Regions from separate parts of the Homo sapiens genome. Here all the other regions are linked to region 2. Evidence: promoter capture Hi-C in 16 types of primary human blood cells and fetal thymus (Javierre and others, 2016). All regions are on one chromosome and are shown on one strand. Each heading gives the region's core, a stretch centred on a gene start or on the middle of the fragment in contact. The rest is flanking DNA. Distances are from core to core; before and after follow the strand shown. Region 1 has its middle 13 kb from the start of LINC03001. Region 2 holds the start of KIAA1586. Region 3 has its middle 16 kb from the start of LINC03001. Region 4 overlaps DST (dystonin). Region 5 overlaps DST (dystonin). Region 6 overlaps BAG2 (BAG cochaperone 2). Region 7 has its middle 7.9 kb from the start of RAB23.

What was found. Contacts are between HindIII fragments. The CHiCAGO score rates a contact against its expected background, and 5 or more counts as called.
Region 1: a fragment that was not itself captured here is called in contact with the fragment with the promoter of KIAA1586 in region 2 in 1 of 17 cell types (total CD4 T cells); the score reaches 5.1 in total CD4 T cells.
Region 3: a fragment that was not itself captured here is called in contact with the fragment with the promoter of KIAA1586 in region 2 in 11 of 17 cell types (activated CD4 T cells, total CD4 T cells, erythroblasts and 8 more); the score reaches 10.7 in activated CD4 T cells.
Region 4: a contact is called between a fragment that was not itself captured here and the fragment with the promoter of KIAA1586 in region 2, in 2 of 17 cell types (erythroblasts and megakaryocytes). The highest score is 10.0, in erythroblasts.
Region 5: a contact is called between a fragment that was not itself captured here and the fragment with the promoter of KIAA1586 in region 2, in 2 of 17 cell types (erythroblasts and megakaryocytes). The highest score is 8.9, in erythroblasts.
Region 6: a fragment that was not itself captured here is called in contact with the fragment with the promoter of KIAA1586 in region 2 in 7 of 17 cell types (erythroblasts, activated CD4 T cells, naive CD8 T cells and 4 more); the score reaches 9.5 in erythroblasts.
Region 7: a contact is called between a fragment that was not itself captured here and the fragment with the promoter of KIAA1586 in region 2, in 9 of 17 cell types (activated CD4 T cells, non-activated CD4 T cells, total CD8 T cells and 6 more). The highest score is 13.3, in activated CD4 T cells.

Annotation. Positions count from the first base shown.
Region 1 is chr6:57,274,344-57,278,221 of GRCh38, reverse strand. It overlaps a transcript of PRIM2 not described here. Among named protein-coding and RNA genes, the nearest start is that of LINC03001, 13 kb to the right of the region's middle. The HindIII fragment of the contact is 6,529 bases long and covers 1-3,878 here.
Region 2 is chr6:57,044,425-57,048,096 of GRCh38, reverse strand. It overlaps KIAA1586, which reads right to left and starts at 1,404. Exons shown (of 4, transcript NM_020931.4): 1 at 1,321-1,404; 2 at 701-784. The coding sequence starts at 1,341. RefSeq lists enhancers at 1-816, 1,633-1,722 and a silencer at 2,352-2,646. The HindIII fragment of the contact is 6,924 bases long and covers 1-1,922 here.
Region 3 is chr6:57,245,519-57,248,986 of GRCh38, reverse strand. It overlaps a transcript of PRIM2 not described here. Among named protein-coding and RNA genes, the nearest start is that of LINC03001, 16 kb to the left of the region's middle. The HindIII fragment of the contact is 1,298 bases long and covers 1,559-2,856 here.
Region 4 is chr6:56,887,782-56,891,255 of GRCh38, reverse strand. All of the region lies in intron 3 of DST (dystonin), which reads left to right. Among named protein-coding and RNA genes, the nearest start is that of DST-AS1, 46 kb to the right of the region's middle. RefSeq lists an enhancer at 497-556. The HindIII fragment of the contact is 4,927 bases long and covers 1-3,474 here.
Region 5 is chr6:56,916,819-56,920,463 of GRCh38, reverse strand. The region is part of intron 2 of DST (dystonin); the gene reads left to right. Among named protein-coding and RNA genes, the nearest start is that of DST, 36 kb to the left of the region's middle. The HindIII fragment of the contact is 1,693 bases long and covers 1,211-2,903 here.
Region 6 is chr6:57,186,578-57,190,291 of GRCh38, reverse strand. BAG2 (BAG cochaperone 2) reads right to left here. Exons shown (of 3, transcript NM_004282.4): 3 at 459-3,714. It overlaps RAB23 (RAB23, member RAS oncogene family), which reads left to right. Exons shown (of 7, transcript NM_016277.5): 7 at 1-3,300. Among named protein-coding and RNA genes, the nearest start is that of BAG2, 16 kb to the right of the region's middle. The HindIII fragment of the contact is 2,733 bases long and covers 62-2,794 here.
Region 7 is chr6:57,228,298-57,232,038 of GRCh38, reverse strand. It overlaps a transcript of PRIM2 not described here. Among named protein-coding and RNA genes, the nearest start is that of RAB23, 7.9 kb to the right of the region's middle. The HindIII fragment of the contact is 2,893 bases long and covers 902-3,741 here.

The DNA.
Region 1 (3,878 bases), core at 823-3,322, 230 kb before region 2:
CCGAGTAGCTGGGATTACAGGCACCCACTACCACACCCGGCTAATTTTTGTATTTTTGGTAGAGACAGGGTTTCACCATGTTGGCCAGGATGGTCTCAAACTCTCAACTTGAAGTGATCTGCCCATCTCAGGCTCCCAAATTGCTGGGATTATAGGCATGAGCTACCGTGCCCAGCTCAAACACAGAATCTTTTTTTGTTTTGTTTTGTTTTGTTGTTGTTTGTTTGTTTGTTTTTCTGAGATAGAATCTCGCTCTGTCACCCAGGCTGGAGCGCAGTGGCACGATCTCGGCTCACTGCAAGCTCCACCTCCCGGGTTCACGCCATCCTCCTGCCTCAGCCTCCTGAGTAGCTGGGACTACAGGTGCCCGCCACCACACCTGGCTAATTTTTGTTGTATTTTTTTAGTAGAGATGGGGTTTCACCATGTTAGCCAGGATGGTCTCGATCTCCTGACCTTGTGATCCACCCGCCTTGGCCTCCCAAATTGCTGGGATTACAGGCATGAAGCCACCGCGCCTGGCCAGAATCTTTAATCTATGCTAATGAACTGACACTGATTCTGAATTCACATCGTGGTTCTCTGAAATCAACTCATTTTCCAAGCAGAAGCAGGCTCCAACACTCCCTACCACCCCCCGGCTTCTGCTGTGTTCCCAAGGTACTCTGCTTGCCTCCAACACATTTAACTTTAAATGGGTAACTGCATATAAGGCTTTTCCCACTGCATTGTAAGTTCCTTGAAGACAGGGACTCATTCCATCTCCCCAGCATCCAGCATTATTTGACATATATGAAGTGTTCAATATATATTTGTAGAGTAAATAAATCTCTGTCCTTCCCTGAATGCCTAGCTAGGAAGTTCACACAAACAGGCTAGATACAGAATTTGCCTGCCAGACACCTAAGCTCATGAGGGCAGATTTTGGGCTGATTTGTTCACTGCTGTGTCCTAGAACAGTGCAGAGCACATAAATATACATTGAAGGAATGGATGGACCTGCCCCTTTTGAAAGGATACCTTCCCATCCCATGTCATCTGATTTTCCCAGCAAACACACTCTCTGACCTCAGGAATGCCTCTCAGCATTCCCTCTTCTTGTACTGAGTCTCTCTGATGGTAACTTCTTGCCCAAAACAACACACCCACTGGAACTCACAGGCCTGCTGGTTCCTATTCTTTGTCCTTCCAAGGTGGTCTTCTCCTTCTTCCTCTTCTCCTCTTCCTCTTCCTCCTCTCCTTTTTCTTATTCTCCCCCATGCTTCTTTGACTTATTTGAGACACGCAAAAAAAAAATCTTACATTTCATATATCATTATATCTTTTTTTTTTTGAGGCAGGGTCTCAGTTGGTCACCCAGGCTGGAGTGCAGTGGCGCAACCCTGGTTCATGGCAGCCTCGACCTCCTGGGCTCAAGCCATTCTCCCACCTGAGCCCCCCAAATACATGCATGCACCACCACGCCCAGCTAATTTTTTTCTATTTTCTTTTTTTAGAGATGGGTTTCACCATGTTGCTCAGGCTGGTCTCAAACTTCTGAGCACAAGCAATCTGCCTGTTTTGGCCTCCCAAATATATCATTACATCTTAATGATCATTTCTTCATCTACCATTCAGCTTACAAATTAAGATGGTACCATTAAAATTGAAGCTCCTATATATGTCTTTCCACCCATGCTTTTCCCTTACTAAAAGTAACCACTACCTTTTCTTTTTTACTATTATATATGTATTTACATACATACATATGTATGCATGTATATATATATATATATGTAAATGGTATTGTTTTATAATTTTTAACTTTTGTTTTTGGTTTATTTTATTTTATTTGAGACAGTCTCACTCTGTTGCCCAGGCTGGAGTACAGTGGCATGATCTCAGCTCACTGCAACCCTCTGCATCCCGGGTTCACACAATTCTCATGCCTCCGCCTCCCAAGTAGCTGGGATTACAGACGTGAGCCACCACACCCAGCTAATTTTTGTGTTTTTAGTAGAGACTGGGTTTCACTATGTTGGCCAGGCTGGTCTTGAACTCCCAACCTCAGCTGATCCACCCACCTTGGCCTCCCAAAGTGCTGGGATTACAGGTGTGAGCCACTGCGCCTGGCCCAGTTTTTAACTTTTTATTAGTTATATAATATTCTAGCATGCTACTGCTACTTGCTTATTTTCTTTCTTTGTTCAGTTCTATATTTTGGAGATTTATCCATGTGGAAACATGGAGCTCCAGTTCCTTCCTCGTCACTGCTATACAATATTTCACTGTATAAAATATGACAACTGATTAATTCATTTTGCTACTAATTGATGTATAGATAGTTTTGCATTTTTGCTATTATGAACACCACTGCTATGGACGTTTCTGTTACCCGTTTGGTGGGATTGAAGGAGTTCCAGTTGGCCCACTGGGAGAAAGTCCAATTCTACTTTTTCATGAGGACTCCAACAGAGCCAGCACTCTCCAGCCACTGTAGGCCCAAGAACTCAATGGCTCAGGAGACGACAGCTGTGTTAGGCTGGCAATGAAAGTGGAGGAAATGCATTTAAGTTGCTTCCTTCCAGAAATTCTGTTTAAAGTCTTGACTTAAAGATGACACGAAATTGTCCTGTTATGTTTCTCTAGCAGCCTGGCAGTCCAAGTGTAAGGCTGAAGAAAGCAAATATTTGGATTCATTCAGTAGTAACTGTCCAGTAATAACATAATCTACTTTTATTTGTTTGTTTTTTTGAAACAGAGTCTCACTCTGTTGCCCAGGCTGGAGTGCAATGGCACGATCTTGGCTCACTGCAACCTCTGCCTCCTGGGTTCAAGTGATTCTCATGCCTCAGCTTCCTGAGTAGCTGGGATTACAGGTGTGCTCCACCACGCCTCGCTAATTTGTTTTGTATTTTTAGTAGAGACAGGGTTTCACTCCTGGCCTCATTTGATTCACCCACCTTGGCCTCCCAAGGTGCTGGGATTACAGGCCTGAGCCAATGCACCCAACCACATAGTCTACTTTTAACTCTAGTCTTGCTTGCTTACCTTGAAAATTGGTATTTCGTCTGCTTGCATTTTTTTGCACTGTTTTTGACAGAATTTTTGATCTACATCTTATCCATTCTGAGATGATATTGAAAGACATCACATGTATAAATGTGGGAGGAGGGGCTGGGCGCAGTGGCTCACGCCTATAATCCAAGGCAGGTGGATCACGAGATCAGGAGATTGAGACCATCCTGGCTAGCGTGGTGAAACCCCGTCTCTCCTAGAAATACAAAAAAAAAAAAAAATTAGCCAGGTGTTGAGGCACGTGCCTGTAGTCCCAGCTACTCAGGAGGCTGAGGCAGGGGAATCACTTGAACCTGGGAGACAGAGGTTGCAGTGACCCGAGATCACACCACTGCACTCCAGCCTGGGCAATAGAGGAAGACTCTGTCTCAAAATAAATAAACAGAGGGAGGAGCCAAGACGGCTGAATAGGAAAAGCTCCAGTCTACAGCTCCCAGCGTGAGTGATGCAGAAGATAGGTGATTTCTGCATTTCCAACTGAAGTATCAGGTTCATCTCACTGGGGTGTGCCAGACAGTGAGTGGGTGCAGGACAGTGGGTGCAGCGCACCGTGCACGAGCCAAAGCAGGGCGAGGCTTCGCATCACCCGGGAAGCGCAAAGGGTCAGGGAATTCCCTTTCCTAGTCAAAGAAAGGGGTGACAGACAGCACCTGGAAAATCGGGTCACTCCCACCCAAATACTGTGCTTTCCCAATGGGTTTAAAAAACGGTACACCAGGAGATTATGTCCCACACCTGGCTCAGAGGGTCCTATGCCCACGGAGTCTTGCTCATTGCTAGCACAGCAGTCTGAGATCAAACTGCAAGGCCGCAGGGAGGCT
Region 2 (3,672 bases), core at 155-2,654:
GAAACCCATTCTGTCCAAAGTGTGCTCAGAAATCCTTATGTCCCTGCACTTGTCTGAAAATGAAGATTCCTAGGCCCCCGCCTGGAAATTCTGATTCGGTAGGTCTGCAGTGGGGCCCAGGAATCTGCCTGTTTATACTTACTAAGGCTTGAAAACTACTGTCTCAAAGGGAACAAACTCAGAAAAATAGAGCATGTTCCCAGTGATGTAGGATTCTTCATTATGAGCATCAACTGTACTATGCCGTAACATGATGATCTCAGAGGTTAGAGAAATCTTCAAGCTATTTGCCTTCATGTTAGAAGCACCATAACGCTAAGATTCTGGGCTCTCACAACCCTTCCTGTTTTCTACGTCCTTGCTCATCATTAGCAGCTCCTTCCTCCGTGTCGCCTTTAGAAGTTACTCTTGCTCCATTTCAAAACAGCGTTTTAGACACCAGCGTTTTTATCTTAAGTTTAAATGAAAGGCAGGGGGCGAGATTAAGTGTACAGCACGTTCTTTAGGACGTGCTCTTTGTGATGGCTACGGGGGTGGCTCAGATAGCTCTTTTGGTAAATTTCCCAATCCTGCGCCATGCTCCAGTGTCTAGTATGTATTAGACACTCATGAACATTAAATGACCAGGTGAGGTAACATTACATAATGGCCCACCATAGTCTTTTACTCTGGGAAAACCCCAATCATCATTGCTACTTACACTGACAAACTGAATGTCGTCTTCATTTTCATCCGTTGTTGACTCAGATGCCTCAGGGCCAGCTGGAGGGACAGATTCTATTATCTATAAAAACAAGCCAAAACATGCTTATCTGTTCAGCCACATTCGTGTAGGAAGAGAGCGTTTCCGAAAGGAACAATTAAAGACAGAGAGCTCTTGAGGAAAACGAACTGAGCACAATTTCACGGAAACCCGACTAGGAACGGAACTCGAGCTCTGGCTCTTGCCACAGAGTGTGCGGAGCTGCAGGGACCCAACGCTGAAAACGCGTTAGTTACCAGCCTCTCACAATTCCCCTTATCTACTCCAGGAGGAACGCAAGCTCAACACCGAAGGGCAATCCTGCCTTAAAACGTCGCTCCCACTGGCCCAGCCGCGGCCACAACGAACGCCAGGGCCCGTGCGGGGGGCCGGGCGGCCATTGTTGCTGCGGGTTCCTCGCTCAGACACGCACCAGGCCCCAGAGCTGGGCTCGGCCCAAGACACTGAAGAGGTATCGCCCCGAGGCTGCGACGGAGCACCAGGCCTCAGACCGCAGAAAACACAAACCCTTCGCGGTTCGCCTCTGAGAACGCCAGGACCCTCACTCGACTACTCACTTCCGACCCCGGGTCTCCCATGTCTCCGACGGCCGCGCTGACAGCACCACTGCTCCTGCTGTCCCTACTGCCGCAGCCGCCACCACTCCCCTTCCCGCCCTGCACCGCCTCGCGCTACCGGGACCCGCCCCTGCGTGAGCTGGGAGGCCACTGGCGGAAAGAGACGAAAACCGCTTCAAAAGAGGGGCAGCCCTCACTGGTCCGCTATCTCCCCGGAGCCTCTTTCTCTCATTCCCGGGCTTCCTTCCCCGCGCCGCAGAGGATGCTGGGATGGTAGTTCCTACCCGCCGCGCGACCGCGCCGCGCGACTGCCCCGCGCGTGGGTGAAGAATGGAAAAAGACTCTGAGCTACAGCGAAGTCGTCTCCCTTCGGTGTTGCTCTACTATAATAAAATAGCCGAGTTCTTTCTCTCACTTTTTCACAACCAAATATTCGTCTATGTAATAGATCAATGGGAATGAAAAAAAATTGTGTGTGATTTGCTCAGAAATTGCCTTACCAAAATCGTGGCTCACCTTTTTATTTTAACATTTATTCACAAATGATTTTAAACATGAAATTTATGAAAGCAAATTTTAACAGAGAATATTCTTTTAAAGCTTTTATTTGTTTACCTCTATCAGCCTAGGACCACCTGTTATTGACAAGTCTGTAGTCCCAGAAAATCACCTTTATCATTTTGACCCTGATCTACAATGCACAAAATTATACAACAAAGGAGCTATGAGGTATCTGATTAGCCAACTGATCTTCAGCAAAGCAAACAAAAACATAAAGTGGGGAAAGGACACCCTTTTCAACAAATGGTGCTGGGATAATTGGTGACCCACATGTAGAAGAATTAAACTGGATCCTCATCTCTCACCTTATACAAAAATCAACTCAAGATGCATCAAAGACTTAAATCTAAGACCCGAAGTCATAAAAATTGCTCAAGATAACACCGGAAAAATACCTTCTAGACATTGGCTTAGGCAAAGACTTCGCGATGAAGAACCCAAAAGCAAATGCAACAGAAACAAAGATAAATAGACTGAACTTAATTAAACTAAAAAGCTTCTGCACAGCAAAAAAAATAATCAGCAGAGTAAACAGACAACCCACAAAGTGGGAGAAAAGGAGAACATAGGAACAAAGGAAAACATAGACTTACTAGGATTTTAAGGAGTTGGTGAAATTTAAGTGAAGCAGTGTTTTGATAGGTTCAAAACCGTCTAGTGCTGTGTGTAAAGGGTTCAACATCACATACGGACTGCATAGCGAGCCCAGGGTCTTGTTAACTTCAAAACTACAAAGTTAACACACACAGAGTATTGTGCTCAGAAACCCCTTCCTCCGTGTAGCCATGCCCTAAGTGTGTGGATTTATTTCTGGGTACTGTATTCTGTTCCATTTGTCTGTGTGTCTGTTTTTATACCAGTACCATGCTGTTTTGGTTACTATAGCTCTGTAGTAGAATTTGAAGTCATGTAATGTGATTCCTCCAGTTTTGTTCTTTTTGCTCAGGTTAGCTTTTGCTATTATTCTCGGTCTTTTGTGGTTCCACATAAATTTTAGAATTGTTTATTCTGCTTCTGTGAAGAATGTCATTGGTATTTTGATGGGGATTGGATTCAATCTGTAGATTGTTTTGGGTAGTATGGGTAGTATGGACATTTTTTAAAAATAAAAATGTATTTTTTATTTCAATAGGTTTTTAGGAAGCAGGTGGTGTTTGGTTACATGCATAAGTTCTTTAGTGGTGGTTTCTGAGATTTTGGTGCACCCATAACCCAAGCAGTGTATCCTGTACCCGATGTCTTTAATCCCTCACCCCCTCCCACCCTTTCCCGAGTCCCTGAAGTCCTATGTGTCATTCTTATGCCTTTGTGTCCTCATAGCTTAGCTTCCACTTATCAGTGAGAACATACAACATTTGGTTTTCCATTCCTGAGTTACATCACTTAGAATAATAGTCTCCAGTTCCATCCAGATTGCTGTGAATACCAGTATTTGCTCCTTTTTATGGCTGAGTACTATTCCATTGTGTGTGTGTGTGTGTGTGTGTGTGTATGTATGTGTATATACACCATTTTCTTTATCCTCTTGTTGATTGATGGGCATTTAGGCTGGTTCTATATTTTTGCAATTACGAATTATGCTCCTATAAATATGCATGTGCAAGGATCTTTTTTGTATAATGACTTATTTTTCTGTGGTTATTCCTCTTCCTAGTAGTCAGATTGCTGGATCAAATGGTAGATCTACTTTTAGTTCTTTAAGGAATATCCACACTGTTTTCCATAATGGTTGTACTAGTTTACATTTCCACTAACAGTGTAAAAGTGTTCTCTTTTCACCACATCCATGCC
Region 3 (3,468 bases), core at 958-3,457, 200 kb before region 2:
AACAATGTGCTAATAAGCAAATTGACTTGTGTGTTGTTCAATAAATTCTGTTATTTTGAAGTAATACATTAAGGATATTAAACGGAAATCACTAACTCACTGTAAGGTAGCTTTCAAACATTGCATTTTATCTCAAACTGCTATTGAGGCAGGAGAATAGGGTCTGGAGGCAGGGAGCCTAAGGCTCATTCATGCTGACTGGATATCAGAGGCTACTCCCTTTTCAGCCCCTCCTTTTTCCGAGGGGAAGTTGAAAAATGAAACTACCTCTGACTGGTCCCCTCCTGCAATGGATCAGACTGGTTGCAGGCCTACTCTTCATTCTGATTGGTCCCCTCCAACAACCAATCAGACTGGTAGTGGGCCACTACTTCATTTGCATAGAATAAACCAATGGGAAACCTCTAGAGGGTATTTAAACCCCAGAAAATTCTGTTACCTATGCTCTTAAGCCAGTTGCTCAATCCCACTCCCACCCTTTAGAGTGTACTTTGGTTTAAAATGAATCTCTGCTTTTGCTGCCTTGCTTTGTTTGTGCATTTTGTTCAATTATTTGTTCGAAACACCAAGAACCTGGACAACAACCCACCCTCAACCAATAACACTATTAAATGAAAGTTAAAGGAGTATGAGACTGAATCTAATATTGCTAGCTAAAGACAATTAGGTAAGTTAATAGGTGTGATTTATTGCTTTCTATGGATAGCAAAATGAACTTGAAGATCTCTTTGTAATTTAAATAAGTTGGCTCAATTTGAAACCGCTCCTACCATCTGTTTCCAGTGTTAACTTGCTGGGTGCCTGGGTACTCTTCTTCCTTGACCAACTCTCTGCCATTATAATTCAAAGTCACATGTAAATACACTTGGATACATTTGGTTACGCCACATGACTATGTAACATGTAATCCAAGATCTTATGTACACTCCTTAATTCCTCACGTGATCTCATTTTGATCATTAGTACCTGATCCAATTATTTTTTGGCTAAATTCAAAATTCTAAAGCAAACATTGAATTATATGCTATATTAACTAATATACTGTACTCAGTGTCTTGATTTTTTTTAGTCTCATTATTCTTTCTGGATTTCAGAATGAAACTCATGCTCACCCACTAGTCAGGGCTACAAATGTATCCAGAATGACAGTTTATTTTTAAAAGCCCAAATAGTAGGATTCCCTTCTAGGGGAAATCCTTTGAGTCATACAGAAATTAGTTGCCAAAGGTTTCTAGGCCATATCAAAAGGAAACCTCAAGATTCTTTAAATTATTACTTGAAAATTTTTAGTGTCCAAAATGACAACCTAAGATAGGATTTTGATAGTCCCATGAAACACCTCCTCACACAGAGCAACCACATAGAGAACATTTGCATCTCTTCTGCAGCAGCTATAAATGAGAATTTATACTATTACAGCAGTTTTTGCTATTTCTCATGGGTGCCTTTGACATTTACCTAGTGCTCAAAATACACCAAAAATAATTTTGCTCTGAATAAGCCTCAACTATAACTCTGTAATTTATTTCATAATACTTTTTAATCTTCCTTCAAAGCTTACTCATTGATGGATAATTATTAAGCACTTTACAAATTCCCAAAATTATGTGTGGTATAAAAACAGAGCCTTGAAATTTGACAAGCCCTAAAACTCATCACAATCTATCTAGGCCCGAGAAATGATGAATAATCATATACAACTCAGTCAATGTCACCCCTAGATGTTATGGCAATGAAGGAGGGCTAGCCTGAAAGGGATAAACCTAGTTGCCCAGCCACGTAGGAAAGACGATGGATACTCTAGGTGCAGGCAATCAAGAAATCAAGTCCAGGCCGGGCGCGGTGTGGCTCACGCCTGTAATCCTAGCACTTTGGAAGGCCAAGGCGGGCGGATCACGAGGTCAGGAGATCAAGACCATCCTGGCTAACACGGTGAAACCCCGTCTCTACTAAAAATACAAAAAATTAGCCGGGCATGGTGGTGGGTACCTGTAGTCCCAGCTACTCGGGAGGCTGAGGCAGGAGAATAGCGTGAACCCAGGAGGCGGAGCTTGCAGTGAGCTGAGATCGCGCCACCGCACTCTAGCCTGGGCGACAGAGTGAGACTCCGTCTCAAAAAAAAAAAAAAAGAAATTAAGTCCAGGGAGATCATCTGGTACAGGAAGGAGCACATGAGTACTCTATGGGCAGATGCAGAAACTGGCAGGTGAGAGAATCAGCAGGCAGCAGAAATGGTTATCTTGATAGACATCTGCCCAGCTCTCCTTGCAACGGTGGGCTGGCTGCCCCTCCCTGTTCGAGCTGGTTGGTTATCACAGTGTTCTCTCTTCTCTCACCATTCCCCATTCACCTGAGTACAGGCATGGATTTATTAAACAGGCTTAGTAAGTTATAGTACCTACACCCTGATTAGTGCATTGGGGGTAACTGTGCGCTCTGGGGTTTTGAATTGTTGCAACACCATCCTGTCTTTCACTCCTGCTCCTCCCCCATCACCGATAGGACGGCGTATCTCCTGGAGATTGGAGAGGAGCTATTGGTAAGAGTTGGGCCAAAACAAAACTGAGCCAAACTGAAGCACTTCTCCAGCTGTATTTCACTAACATCTTAGGAAACTTATATACTAGCGTAGGTAGAATAGTATTCTTTCTAGTTTCATAGCCATTTTCTGTTGGCCTCTGGGAGTTTTTCACTTCAAATGTAAGTAGTTATACAGGAACAAAGAGAGTTGATACCTTTGAAACATAGACCAAGGAAACATAATATCTTCTCCCCCGTAAATGGGCTGCAGAACAAGTAACACAGGTTTCTATAACACATTTTGTTAACAATTAAATAAGTTACAGGAAGGAAGCTTAGAATAAGAGAAAATAAAATAGTAATTTATAAGGAACTGGAGTTTTTTACAGTGTTGAGATATATGATTTGTAGATATGTGGATAAATGGATGGATAGAGATGCATGTGATACAATAAGTGTGCAAGCACAAAAATAATAGTCTGTTGGCACAAAATCAGAATTAGATTTGTATGTTTTCTATGACTAGAGTGACACCAATCAACTAATCTTTCTCAATAATTTTAAAGCTGTAACTTTATATTAAAAATTCATTGTGCTGCCATTTATAATCAGGTAATCCAAGTGCACTCTCATGCCCCAAACCCCATCCCCTGCACTATCCCAAGACCACTCCCTCCACCTCCATATTCTGGCATCAGAACCTTTACATCTGCAGGCACTCCTGATCTGATAATTATGTTCTTACTGAGCTATTGTTTGATCCCTTCCTTTCCAGAGAAGAGGAAGTATTTCTGAGTGGAAGCAGTTACACCAGACCAGGAGCTTAGACTATCAAAATGCTATCTTAGGTTGTGCTCTAAGAGATGGAGAAAGAGAATCTAGGCTCAAAATCTACAAAACTGAAACCTGAAAGAGGGAAGACAGCAAGGCCTAAGTGGATGAAAGGTG
Region 4 (3,474 bases), core at 313-2,812, 160 kb after region 2:
TGCATCTCCTGTCAGTTGTCTGAGAGACTGGACGTTGTCAGAGTTGGTAGTGAGAAGGCTGTTGGCTCCTTGTCTCACACAATTCCTGTGCAGGCTTCTAGAACCTTTTGGCCTCTGCCGACATTTCCCTGCTTTTAATGCCATATATGAGCTTGAACTGAGGCTTTGTGTCCTCTTCTGGATTTGGTTAGGTGCAGCCAGTAGTGCCTGCTAGAGCCACCCTATTCAACATGCGTCTAAAGCCTGTGTCTTTTCTAAACGTACACATTTGGAGAAAATCAGTGTTATGACGTGTTGCCATGAAAGCAACTCTGATTATAGCTTGGAGATGGAGTAAAAATAAATCAGTTATGGTGATTCAGGATTACTTGAATGACTTTATATGAAGCACTCAAGGCATTTCTAGTGGCAATCTAAATAAGAAATAGGCCCATGAGTGAGAAAGACTGAAAACAGAAGTAACTGCAAAGGAGATGAGTCAGAAAGCGTGACTGTGCAGTTTTAGCTACTTTCAGTCAGACCATCCTCTTGAAGTGTTATGTGAAATGCAAATACTTTAGCATCCTTAGCTGTTTTAACCTATTTACTTATTCTGGATTTGTAAGCTATATGCAAATATACCTATAAGAATTTGTAATGGGGATCACTAATAAAAACTTAATAATATCTAGATTTTTTATTTTACTCCTTGTTTTAGATGTTTCTAAAAGTGGATAAACTAAAAATTTATCCTGATTTCCTCTCAGTACATATGTATTTGGATTTATACTGTATATTAAGATATGTCACTAGGATGCTTAGGAATTTTTTTTACCATCTTGAAACAGAAAAGATAATTAGATCCAGATCTCCATTTATTCCTTAGTATTTTCACATTACAAAGCATTTTGTTTTGTTTCTGAATCCCAGGATTTTTAAACATCATCATCATCATCATAAGAACTCTTGCATTACTGCATGTTTACCTCATTGACAATACATGGGCATTGTTCTCTGCACTCTTCTCTGTTTTTCTCTCATTTTATCTTCTCAGCGATTCTCTGGAGTCGGTGCTCACTTTCCAGGGAGGAAATGTGTCAAGGTCATACAGCTGGTAGATCATGGAGTTAACATTTAAACCTAGGCACTCTTGGCTTGAGCCGTTTTTGAGTAAGGAATGGAGAACTCCCCATGATTACAATTCTAGTGCTAGACATTTATCCTCATCAGCCTTCCTGAAGTATTTTAATTACTTTGAGTCTCATTTTTCTAACTGCATAGATGGTAGATATGGATGAAATCTTTGTGTTTTTAAACTATTACATCAATTAAAACCTATCTTTAAAATGGTATTGAAAACCATAGGTAAACCTCAAACATCATTTTTGCCATCATTTTATTGGCAAAATTGGCCCCCTCTTTCTGTGGCAGGGCACCTAGGAGGTAGCAAGAAGTAAGCAAGAGTAATTTTGCCCTACTGCCTGCTCACATGAACCTGTTAATGTACAACTTTCAGACCCAAAAAGTATTTATGTGTTTGAGATTGGGGGTGGGTATGGGGAAATAACAGTTTTAGAGCATCAGGAAATAATCAAACATACTGACTCTACTCCTGTTACATTTCACTGATTCCAGTTTTTTGCACACTGCAACAGCATTGCCTGCATTTCCTGGTGACTTAGAATCTTTGAGACTTTCTCACTGAGCTGAAAAAGTATAATTAAAAATTGCTAGTGTTCCCAGGTTATTGCCAAAGCTGCAGCTTGTTCTCCCTGCTGGCAAAATCTTAGCCTCTGAGCACCTGTTTTCTTACTTTTGGGCTCCCACCACCATCAAGCAATGGGATTTTTGAACCTGACAGTTTTGACTGAGGAGTTGGAGGACATATGGGCCTAACACAGGTGATTGGGTGATCCTCTTTTCTGAAATGGTAAGCACAAAGGAAGAAGCAGGTTTGGATTGAGGATTGGAAAGAAAATTTTCTGATTTGGATATGTGAAGTTTGAAATAACTATTAGATATTCTTGTGTCTGGATTTCATGGAAGATGTGAGAATTATTTGTACATAGATGTTATTAAATCTATAAGACTGGGTGGGATGACTCCGAAAATGAATTTGATAGAGAAGAGAAGACACTTGAGGTCTGAGCCTTGGAGTCTGCCAGTGATGAGAGTTTGGGAAGAGGACTGAGGATCGCTTATAACTTCCAACTCTTCACTCAGAAATATAAATGCCTTAAGCAGACATGGGTCTAGGTAGCTCTTGACTTTGATTTAAGGCTATTCATTTTAGGCCAAGAAAAGGCCACTCAGGTAGAGACTAGAGAAAATAGCAGGAAATGAAGTCCCAGATGTACTCATTAGATTTTCCCTTCCCTGAACTCTCCCCAACTAAACCACCACTTCCTTGACCTCACCCTTCTTTTCCTTCTGTTGTGGGTTTCTGTTTTTCAGTCTTGGGGAAATTTTCTGTTTTTCTGATTACAGCTTAGGTTTTTGTAAGGCTGCAGTATATTTTGGAACATTATATAGCTTTAATTTGTAATAATTAAATTAACCAGATTTTGTCATATTTGTAGTTGGGAACTTTTTGGAGTGTAGGAAAGACTTAAGCATATATCCTTGATCTCTTGAAAATATAGCAGGGTGTTTCTGTGTTCCTTTCCTGCTTAGATTATTAAAATGGTCTTCCTTTTCCCTTTCCTTTTCAAATATGTAGGACCAGGCAGCTCTATGTGCATAACCTTAGGATATTTCCCCTTTTGTGGAAGGCATAACTGTACAACTCATACCTTACTTTGGCTAATTAACTAGCAAATCCAAAGCTCTTAGAGGAAACATTTGTTTCCTTTTCCCCTTTGGAATTCTGGAGAATGAATTGATTAATAAAGTCAAATTTCTTTTGCTAATTATCTGAAAAGAATTTTTTTGAATGACACCCATTCAATGTACTGAGTCTTTGCTACATATTGCTGTACCTCCCTTTTTAGGTTCATAATTAATAGAATTTTATAAAAGATTTCATTTATGGCCAGGTGTGGTGGTTCACGTCTGTAATCCCAGCACACTGGGAGGCTGAGGCGGGCGGATCACGAGGTCAAGAGATTGAGACCATCCCAGCCAACATGGTGAAACCCGTCTCTACTAAAAATACAAAACTTAGCTGGGCATGGTGGCACGTGCCTGTAGTCTCAGCTACTTGGGAGGCTGAGGCAGGAGAATCGCTTGAACCCGGGAGGCAGAGGTTGCAGTGAGCCGAGATCGCACTGCTGCACTCCAGCCTGGTAACAGAGCGAGACTCCATCTCAAAAAAAAAAAAAAAAGATTTCATTTATTATAGGCTTGCTATAATAAATTACAGTAAGGTATTGGAATAATTAATGCACAGGGGCACAAGAATGTGCAAGGTAGGTAGACTGTATTGAATGAACAGTTTAGTCTCTATAAACAACTCATGAAACCAAGATTAACTTGGTAAAGGGATTCATGTGTTCT
Region 5 (3,645 bases), core at 808-3,307, 130 kb after region 2:
GCTGGGCGCATGGTGAGCGAGCTAGAGACTTCATTTCCCAGCCTTTCATGCAGATGTGTGTGACTCTATGGCTAAGTTATGGCCGATTGGATATAAGTAGAGGTGATATATACACATTCCAGGTCAAGCCCTTAAAAGAATCAGCTTGCCTCCTATAGCCCCTTTCTTCTCATGCCTGGGAAGGAATTGTGGTGGTAAACTAGCTTCAACCCTGTGGGCAAGTAATATTGGAGGGGAAGGCTGAGCAGTGATAGAGTAGGATCTTGGGTTCTTAGATCCCTTGGTTACTGGATCTTATTTTAATAGCTGTACTTTTGGATCTCTTTGTTACAGTAGCTAGCCTGTATCTTACTACACTTTTTATCTCATTGCAATGCAGTGTAAACAGTCTATATATTTGTTGTTTTTATCAAAATTTTTATGTGTTTATATAATTGCTGTAAAAATAACCACATTGATTGAAGTGGTGCAGAGCAGAGTGTTTAGATATATATATCCTTCTTTTTTCCCGGAGACAGAGTCTCACTGCGTCACCCAGGCTGGAGTGCAGGAGTGCAATGGTGGGCTCTCAACTCACTGCAACCTCTGTCTCCGGGTTAAGCAATTCTTCTGCCTCAGTCTCCCAAGTAGCTGGGATTACAGGTGCATGCCAAAATGCCTGGCTAATTATTGTATTTTTAGTAGAGATGGGGTTTCACCATATTGGCCAGGCTGCCCTCAAACTCCTGGGCTCAAGTGATATGCCTGCCTTGGCCTCCCAAAGTGCTGGGATTACAGGTGTAAGCCACCTTGCCTGGCCCAAATATATATATCCAAATTTATGTAGGAGTTTAGTAAATAATAAAGATGGGCATTTGGAATCAATAGAGAGGCACTAATGGTTGTTAAAGTTGGGTGATAGGTACTTAGGGTTCTTTTTAAAATCTTTTTATATTTTGGAATTTTCTGTAATAAAAAGTTAACATATTTAGGAAATTAAAAAATGAATACAATAAATTCATTGGAGAAAGGATAGTTAAGTAGATGATGTTACCCACTTGGCAGGAAATAAAATTAGTTGTGTCTCTCACACTATACTTAAAAATTAATTTCAGATGGATTAAAATGTACATATGATTAATTCCAGATGGATTATAAGTGTACATTTACAGGATTTAAAAAAATAGAAGGTATAGGAGAATGTTTTATAATTTTGCAGTTGGGAAAAGCTTTCTAGGACAAACATTTAAAAGTCATAAAGGAAAAGATTGGCAGTTTTGAATAAAAGAATTCTAAACTTATGTACAACAAAATGAAAAGACAGATTGCAACCTAGGCAAAAATACTTGCTGCATATATAGTAAATTATTTTATTCATATTATATAAAAAACTTCTCAAATCAATAAGAAATACATATAAGTTGTACAAAAATGAGCAAAGCATGTGAACAGACAATTCAGAGAAGAAAATAATTCGGAGAAAAAAATGGCTTATAAAAATATAAAAAATAATTTAAAAATTCAGACAATTCAGAGAAAAAAATGGCTTATAAAAATATACAAAGATTTTTAACTTTACTAATAAATAACGCAAATTCAAACTCACTCCGTCACCCAGGCTGGAGTGCAGGAGTGTGCGATCTCAGCTCACTGCAACCTCTGTCGCCCGGGTTAAGCAATTCTCCTGCCTCAGTCTCCCAAGTAGCTGGGATTACAGGTGCATGCCAAAATGCCTTTTGTCCATCACATAGGCAACAGATATAAAGATTTATATTATCCAGTGTTGATGGAGATAATAGAATTAAAAAGGCACTTTCATAGTGTTGCTAGAAATGTAATTTGGTACATTTTTAGAGACAAAGTTGGTACCTGTAGTATCTCTCAAACTTTTTCCTACGGACTGGAAATACCACTTCTAAGTAAAGAAGATTTAGTTGAAGATATTTTGTTTATTCCACTGTTTATACTGGAAAAAAATTAAAATGTCCGAATTCTAGTCAGTAGGAAAATAGTTAAGTATGGTACGTGCATAAACTAGAAAATTATTCAGTTGTAAAAAAGAGGGTGTGGTGGCTCATGCCTGTAATCCCAGCATTTTGGGAGGCTGAGGTGGGTGGATCTCTTGAGGTCGGGAGTTTGGGACTAGCCTGACCAACATGGCGAAACCCTGTCTCTACTAAAAATACAAAAATTAGCTGGAAGTGGTGGCACGTGCCTGTTATCCTAACTACTCAGGAGGTTGAGGCAGGAGAATCACTTGAACCCGGGAGGTGGAGGTTGCAGTGAGCCAAGATCATGCCACCACATTCCAGCTTGGGTGACAAAGCAAGACTCTGTCTCAAAAAAAAAAAGAAAAAAAAAAGAATGTACACCTGAACCTGAAATGTCATAAAAAGAGCAATGTAGAAAACATATATATAAAACAAGATCCCATTTTTGTTGAATTATTTTTATAGGAGAAGTCAAGATGATAGGAACTAACATCACAGTGATTACTCTAGAGGGATGTATTTGAAGATTCAAAACAGGGACATTCACACTTATTTATAGGGTTCAAAAAAGGGTTGCAATTTTAGGTGGATTTAGTTTCTAATTTGTTTTTTTCTGAAATTTTCACACAAGTAGATCTTTAAAAAGGAAAAATCAAACCCAAAGCATATTGAGAGTCTATTTTGTGCCCAAACATAAGTAGGAGCAATGAAGGACACAAAGATGAAAAAGAAGCTGTCCCTCCCCTTCATATCCATGATAAGTCAAACTGTGGTAAGTGCTATTTAAAAAGCCACATTGAAATAAACTTCTTTTAAATCAGTCTACTGGGAAAAGTCAACAGGAATAATATGATTCAGGTTAAAAAGTTCATAGCTCTTGCCTAAATAACTGCAAGAGGGGCAAGAGAAGGTAACAAAAATCTCTTCAAAGCTTTTAGCTACTGATCTGGATTCAGTAACATCATCTTAGGAAAAGGAGTCAATACAAGGTGACTTCTTATGCACAGTTTATGCAGATATCCATGTAATGCATTGTCAAAGACAGAGCAGAAATGAACAGTAAAAAATGCTGTAGCCACCACAAAATGGACTAGCCACAAGCATTTCTCACAAACCTTTGATTAACCATCTTTGTTTAAAACCTGCTCCTGTTGGCTTTCCCTTCTGCTTTTTCTCTGTCTTTACTCAGCATAAATTATCAGAAGATTTTAGGTCATGAAAATATTTTTTCTCCTTTCTTGCTAAGTGTGTCTTCAGAGTAAGCAGATTTTTGAGAGAGAATGTGCTGCCAGAAAAAGCATTTAAGACTTGAACACAGACCAAATACACATTTGATCTATGCAAGGGCAAAGGTTCAGCCCCCAGACAGTGGGCAGGAGTGGTCAGTCCTTTCTGCTGTGTGTATCCTCAGTGGGCTATTGCTGTTTCTGAGAAATACCTGGTCCGAGCAGTGTGTGTTAGGAGCCTCTGCCTGTCTTTTTTTTTTTTTTTTTTTTTTTTTTTTTTAGCATGCCTGGGGCTTGATGGCGAGTCTTGGCAAGCATCCATTTCATGGGGGCCCAGTGAATGCTGCTTCCCTACCTTAGTAATGTAGCTCACCTTTGGGACTTGAAATCCTGCCTGGAACTCCAGCCCAAAAGCCTGAATAGCTTTTCTCTCTCTGTCTCTCTGTGTG
Region 6 (3,714 bases), core at 179-2,678, 140 kb before region 2:
CTCTGGTGGAAAAATTATTGCCCTGTGGACTCCTTTAATTTTTTTTACATTAGACGAAGCTTCTCCTGTTTGTAAAGGAATGCTATAAGAAATTTCAAACACAGGTTTTGCGGAATTTTAAATGCTGGAAAACATAAATGAAATGCCTAAATATATTGTTACAGATTTTAATACTGTGGATCAAGGAAAGATAGCAAGCATTCTTTTCCTGAAATTGGTCATGTAGCTTTTCTGCGAAATAGTATTGAATCTGAATACTTTCACAAAATAATACTGAAAGGTAAACCCTAAATCTTGCCAGACTGCATTAGTATTTTGGCATTGAAACTTGTGCAATATCTGTGTAATGTAGAATGTGGGGTGTGCATGCAGATGTCTGGTACTGGAGTAAGCTGAAGGTATGTGCAGTATTTAAGAAAATGTACATTCTAATTAATTCACTTATAAAACCATTTACATATTGTGTATATGTTTTTATTTTCAAATGATAAACTCTAGACATATATTTTGCAAAATGAGCTTGGGTTTAAAAAGTGCTTTGTGCCAAAAATATCATACCTAATTTTTATAGTGCTTTACTATCAGAATTTATATTGTTTATTATATCTTTTAAAAGCAGTAAGCAGTTTTCATCTGACAGCGTAGATAAAAGAGGAGTATAGGAATTTGAATGCTAGAGCATCTCCCAGGTGAGCCTTATTGCAGATCTTTTTGATATAGTCACCCATAAGCATGGTGAGCTCCTGCTCTCATAAGGTCAGCCAAAGCCCCTTAAGAAGGTACACAGCACATCTGCAGTCATTCAGGAGGTCCTGTGAAGTGTGGTGATGCATCTAACACCTTTTGCTGCTCACTGAGAACCCAGCTTTGAACTTACAAGATTACACTAACCATTTTTAAAGTGCACAAAAATATTATTATTAGTCTTAACTAAAATTACATATTTTATAATGCCCTGCAACTCTAAACCATCCTTTTGTTTACACATTTTTGTATGGTATTTTAAGATTATCAATCACTTCAACATTTCTATAACCTTGTTTGTATAGCACTTTCTCAAGAGCTGTCAGTCCCACATACAGAATCATTTCTTTTACAAAATGATTTAATATGTAATCATGTGTCAGGACATAAATTTTGTCACTTGGGACAGTAGCTTTCCAGCTAAGATAATTGCGTGAACTCTGTTAAAACTGATTATCACTCATCAATGGCTTTATTTTTAACCTATAAATAACCCCTTTCAATATACCTGGTTTTTACAGCATTGCAAAATCTGTAAAAATAACTTTTATTGGAAAATGTCATGAAGTCATTTTTCATTATTTGTACTAAACAATGTTTTATGTACTCCTTTTGTGTTTTATCTTTTGTTTTTCCATCTGTACTCCCCTCATCCTCCTAATGTTGAGAAAATCAAATTTCCTGGGTGTGTCCTTGTTAAGTGATCAAAAGTAAATGTTCTCTTTGCCATTTTAGATGGAAAAATAAAAAAAATTAAAAAGTAAATTTTTGCTTTTCATTATATTGAAATGATCTGGCATTATCTATTTCACAGTAATGTAAAATGCTTATTTTTATGTCACCAGTTGTCACCACTCCCATTGCTGATAGTGACATAGGTTTTGGGGGCAAAATTCAGTTCCTAACAAACAGTGGATACTGCTAATGAGTCATCTTTTCTACTCTCTTCAATTTTCTACTCTCTACTCTCCTCTTTAATTTTTGCACAAAATAATACTTTGCAACAAATAGTCTTTTGTCTTTATTGGCAGAAAAATCACTTGTTATATGTGTTCTAGTTAGTTCTTTTTCATGTTAGCTGTGTGGCTAAAAGCGTGTTACCTTTCTATATTTAAAAAAAGTAATCTCTGAGGATAGTTACAGTTCCTGTAATATAATTTTATGTACCTAGTTTTATCTTTTTTTAAATAAGAACTGAAGAGAGAGCTTTGTTACATATTTGAATTTTTAATTTGCACTGCTGTATTTTAAACCTAACCATAATTAGTCATTTAAAATAATTAAGTAGGCCTGAAAGTCAGCCATGTTAATTTCTCAATTTAATCAATTCTTAAAGCCTTCAAAAATTGACATTTTTTTTCCAAGACCCTTCATTCTCTTAAATAACTTTAATTTTATGAAACCATGTATACTAAAGAAAAACTTTTCCAAGATTCCAGGTGATTGTGCATTTGTGCTCTAATCTACTTTTTTAACATTACGGCTAATCTTTTGCGTAGACATATCGCTGTGGAATAACTGCCATATTTCAGAGTTCCTCAGGTTTCCTTTTCCTTTTCCAGTCTCTGTCTATGAATTAAATAGTATATAGAATGACCCATATAAGGCAATATAGTTAAATAAAACCAGGTTAAATGATTTCCTTTGTATCTGCCCAAAGTTGATAGCACACGTTACTTTTTCAAAATAAAGCTAAAACTACCAAAAAGAGGATGAAAACTTTTTCCTCATTATGGAGTGAAGTTCTAGGTGGTTGCTTTAGAAGTTGGCAGTGCAGTGCTCAGAAGGAACTCTCAATAAATAACATGTACTCCTTGGACCTGTGAGTTTTAGGAAACTGGACCTTTTCTGAAGACCTTAGAATAGGGAGTTGGCCTTAGGACCTAATGTCCCAACTTAGTGTTGGACCCTTTTAATATAAGATATTGTTAATTATTAGCATACTTTTCAAAACCTTTGAAATAGTTACTGCTAACCTGATAAAATGTTCCCATTAATCTATCATTAGTCTGTTTCTCTGAAAACAAAATGCATTGATGAGGTGAAAGCTTGTTCCACATGGCACCTACCTAATGAACAGGACTTACTCAGTTTTTAACTGTTAAGAATGTCACATGTACTATTGTCACTCCTTAGGTTTTCAGCTATAAAACATGTAAGTCTCTCATCATACAGATGAATTCATTTGCTAACAAAATATTTAAAACCCGCAGTAGACTCTGAAATATCCAGTCATCAAACTCCTGGCTAACTGGATGATTTGGCTATAATAATCTTTATTATTATTATTTTCATCTGTCTCTCGAAATATCTACAGTAGGATGTTAGTAAATGGTCTTTTAAAAGCAAAAAATTGGGGATAAAAGGAAAACTGAATTCCTTCTATATTTTTATTACTAATAAATAATGCTTTTGTAAATTTGAATGGAAAACCACTTGTATGTATTGCTATTTGGTTGCAGTTACACTCTGGAGCTTAATTTAAAACACTACTCTAAAAATTTCATGAAGGATGAATTCCAATAATCAGAAAATAAATGCATTTCAAAGCTAAAATTTTGTGTGATATGTATGATTGTATCAACAGTGTGGATCTAAATAGTAAAATATATAATGCAACTTCTTTAAAGATCAAAGCAACCTAAAATTATTTCATATTTCAGATACTCTGCCAATATTTAATACTCTCATTTTATTGAAAGTAGTGCTAACAAGGAATGGCAGGAGGGCTACCCTAAAATTATGTATTATATGCTAGGAATGGTAGAGAATTGAGATACAGCAAAACATACTCTATATCCACTTATAGTCTATATAAAAGACAATAGTTTAAATGAGGGTAAAAATGTGACTCAGGAGATTCATCATCATTTGAAAATAAATTATACTCCCATTCTTATAAATAAAAATACATGTTAAGAACCAACCCATTGGCCAAGCGTGGTGGCTCATGCCTGTAATCCCTGTACT
Region 7 (3,741 bases), core at 1,099-3,598, 180 kb before region 2:
TTTCTGAATCTCTGAAAACATGGTAATGCCAAAGCTTTAGCCTTTATATTTGGAAGTAACCAACTATAACTTAGGATGAAAAGAAGAAAAGCATTGAATGCTTTGCTCAGACCATAAATTCCATATCCATTTTCCCTAGCGTTTGGGATAATTAAGTTCATTGTACTAGTGGTTTTTTTTTTTTCCCTTAGGGATTCTACCTGGAATATACTAATATTTTCAAGCACTCATAGAAAATGGTGTAAATAAAATTGTTACACATGGAAATACACATTTATAATTTTGATATATTTTGCCAAATTGCTCTCTAAAAGGGTTAATTCCATTTACGTTCCAACAAAATATTTGTTTTCCCACATCCTTCCCCATATTAAATGTTAACCTGTTCAATTTGTCAATCAGACACAAGGAAAATTATATCCTTATTGTTTAATTTGCATTTTCTGAATTGTGAAGATATTAAATATACTCATGTCAATAGGCTATTATCTTTCATTTCAGTATCTGGATGTGAGTGGTTTTTGCCTATTTGTTGCTTATTGACTTGTAAGAGATCTTTGTATATTAAAGAAATTTAGCCCTTTATCTGTCATATATTGAGAGTATTTTTTTCTCAGTTTGTAATTTGTTTTTGCATCATTATTTGTAATTCAAGGTGAGTTTTTGAGATAAGTATTTACCAAGTAGAATAAAGTAATCCCTTTCCCCTCCCTACCACAGGAAGAGAAACCTAACATTGTATTTTTAAAAAGGTCTGAGCTCATTACACCTTCCCTAGGGGAAAAGTAAAAACTTTTTTAAGTATGGTCTTTCCAAGAGGATTAAGTTGGACCATCTCACATATGGATGGAAAAGACAATGTTTCTCAAAGAAAAGTCTCCAGTGGACTTTCTGGAAAGCTTCACTGGATATCCCTGGTTTCTAGGCACTAAATAACAATAGTATACCCTAGTCATTAAGATAACCAAAAAATGTACCTACACATTTCAAATGTCCTCACCATTCTGCTCAAGAGGTGGATCCTTAGGATTGAAAAAATGTAATTAGTTTCCTAGAGACTGATGGAGGTAGCAGGTTCCAAAAACTACAGGTATCTGTGCCTGGCTTTACCAGGAGATACAGTACAGCCTCTGAAGGTGCTTCAGCTTCTCAGTGGTGGAGACATGAACACCAACCTCCATAACCCTGGGAGTTGAGGTAAAAGATACTTATAACCAAACTGGGCACAAAGGATGTAGATTTATTCAAATAGACTCAATGTACATGGGCAATTCACATCACAGTGATGATCACAATTGAGTACCAGGGTCTTTGCCTAAGTTTTCCAAACTGTGCAAGCCTCTGACAAGTCTTGTGCAACTATGGAAAAGAGAAGGAAATCTTTAATTTAAAGACTGACATTGGGTATCTTACGACCCCTGGCAAGTGATGTCTCAGATCAGAATTAATTTGCAATAAAAAATAAAGCAAGACTCCCTGTTCCTGTAACGATGCTAACTGAACTGATATCAACCCTCCCACTAGATATGCACAGCCTTGATAAGCGTAGATAAACATATACACTAAGATAAACTGTAACAACAACAAAAAATACAATAGCCTATGTCAAAACAAAGAAAGGGGAATCCCCAGTGGTCCTGACAGGCCAAGAAAGTGCCCCACCTGAGGACCAAAACAGAAGGTTGAATGCTCCCAAGTGATTGAAGAGATGTCCTGGTCTAGATGAAAGAGAAGGCTGGAAGTGAGACACAGACATAAAAACAAGGCACTAGAATACGCACCAATTCAGTGAAAAGGGAGCTAGAAAAATTTTGTCAAGGAGAACAGGGAAGCGACAAGGAAGATTACCATCCCCCAGGATCCTGAATGGGGAAATGTTTCTGGGAGGAATCAAGGCCCAAAACCTACACCATGGATGGACATGTTTTCTGAATTTATGCTACCTATGTGATGTGGGCATTCCAAGCTGAGAATTTAAATGCTGTTCCCACATCTTTGAACATTCTGAAGCCCTGGCTTTGACAAAAGCAAATATCAAAAGCAGATATCAAGCCATTGTACAGGGGCTAAGCATATAGAAGTCCCATAGAAAAGGCAGCCCTCATGAAGATGACTTCACATTCCTAAATTAAAAACCACCAAAGGAGGCATGAGGGAGAGTCATCGAGTGCAACAAAAAAGAATTGGAAATAATGGAACAATAGCAAAGGGACTAAAATAATTATGTTCAAAAGAATTAAAGCAATGCAGGCCAGGCACAGTGGCTCACACCTGTAATCCCAGCACTTTGGGAGGCCAAGGTGCACGGATCACGAGGTCAGGTATTCGAGATCAGCCTGGCCAACATGGTGAAACCCTGTCTCTACTAAAAATACAAAAATTAGCTGGGCATGGGTGGTGGCATGTGCCTGTAATCCCAGCTACCCGGGAGGCTAAGGCAAGAGAATTGCTTGAACCTGGGAGGCAGAGGCTGTAGTGAGCCAAGATCGCACCACTGCACTCCAGCCTGGGCAACAGAGCGAGATTCAGTCTCAAAAAAAAAAAAATAAATAAAAAAAGAATTAAAGTAATGCAAAAAAAGATTAAAAAGCCTAATGAATACAATAATTTGACTACAGGAGAAAAGAAATTTTAACAAAACAGAGAACATGTGGAAAATTTTAAATGTAGTTCATTGAGATTATAAACTCAGGTAAATTTAAACTGTAGAATAGAAATAGATGGAGAAGAAATTGGTAAACTGGAAGATCGGCCATTTCACATAATAAAGCCAGAAAGATAATGATATGAAAATTATAAGAGGGGTTTAGGATCAGCCTCTCTTAATAGGAGTTCCAGAAAAAGAAAATAGAATGGGTTAGAGGCAATATTTGAAGATATAAGGCTGAGAATTTTGCAGAACTGAAGAAAGACATTATTGAAGTAGCACACTAAATACTGTAGATATAATAAAAACAATCCATACTTGGACACTGCAGAGCAGTAAAGCTGAAGAAAAACTCTAGCAAGGAGGAGAAAAAGATATATCATTGGCAATGCCATTGGCATTTCACCACTTAGAGATGAGTCCGTTTGGAGACATTTCTGTCCCTTCCATTCCCATATAACTAGTAACTTTCAAATACTACTAGTACTTCTACTAACTCTTTTGAGGGCTTACACTCTTCTAAGTGCTTTTACGTATGGTAACTCATTAAATTCCTCTAATAACTCCAGGAAGTACTACTATTATCTCCATTTTACAAGTGAGGAAACTGAGGCGCTGAGAGATTTAAGTAACTTGTCCAAGGTAACACGGCTAGTAAGTGGTACAGCTGGAATTCAAATATAGGGATTCTGGCTCCGAAGCCTGAGTTGTAAGAGCCCAATAACGTTGGCTGGATGACTGTAAGCCATATGCCAGCTCCTGTCTACCTGGGGCCCTCCCATACCCCACAAAGTGCCTGTACCTCATTATCGCACATGTCTCATCTTTAAATCAATTCCCTGCTCTTTCCAACTACTCCCTGCCCTCAATCCATTTCTTTGGTCCCTCAGGTTGATGGCAACTCAATGTTTAAAATAGGTGTTCATGAGGTGTTTCTAGTTATGGGTAAATGAAATGAGAATTCAGCTGCAACAAGGAGACATCTAGTCCTAGGAGGGACTAAATCCATCTGAGAAGCTGCATCTCAACCTGCCTTACACATTTCAAAGGAAGGCACTTTGTGATTTGCAAGTGCATCAAACTATTCAGTCATA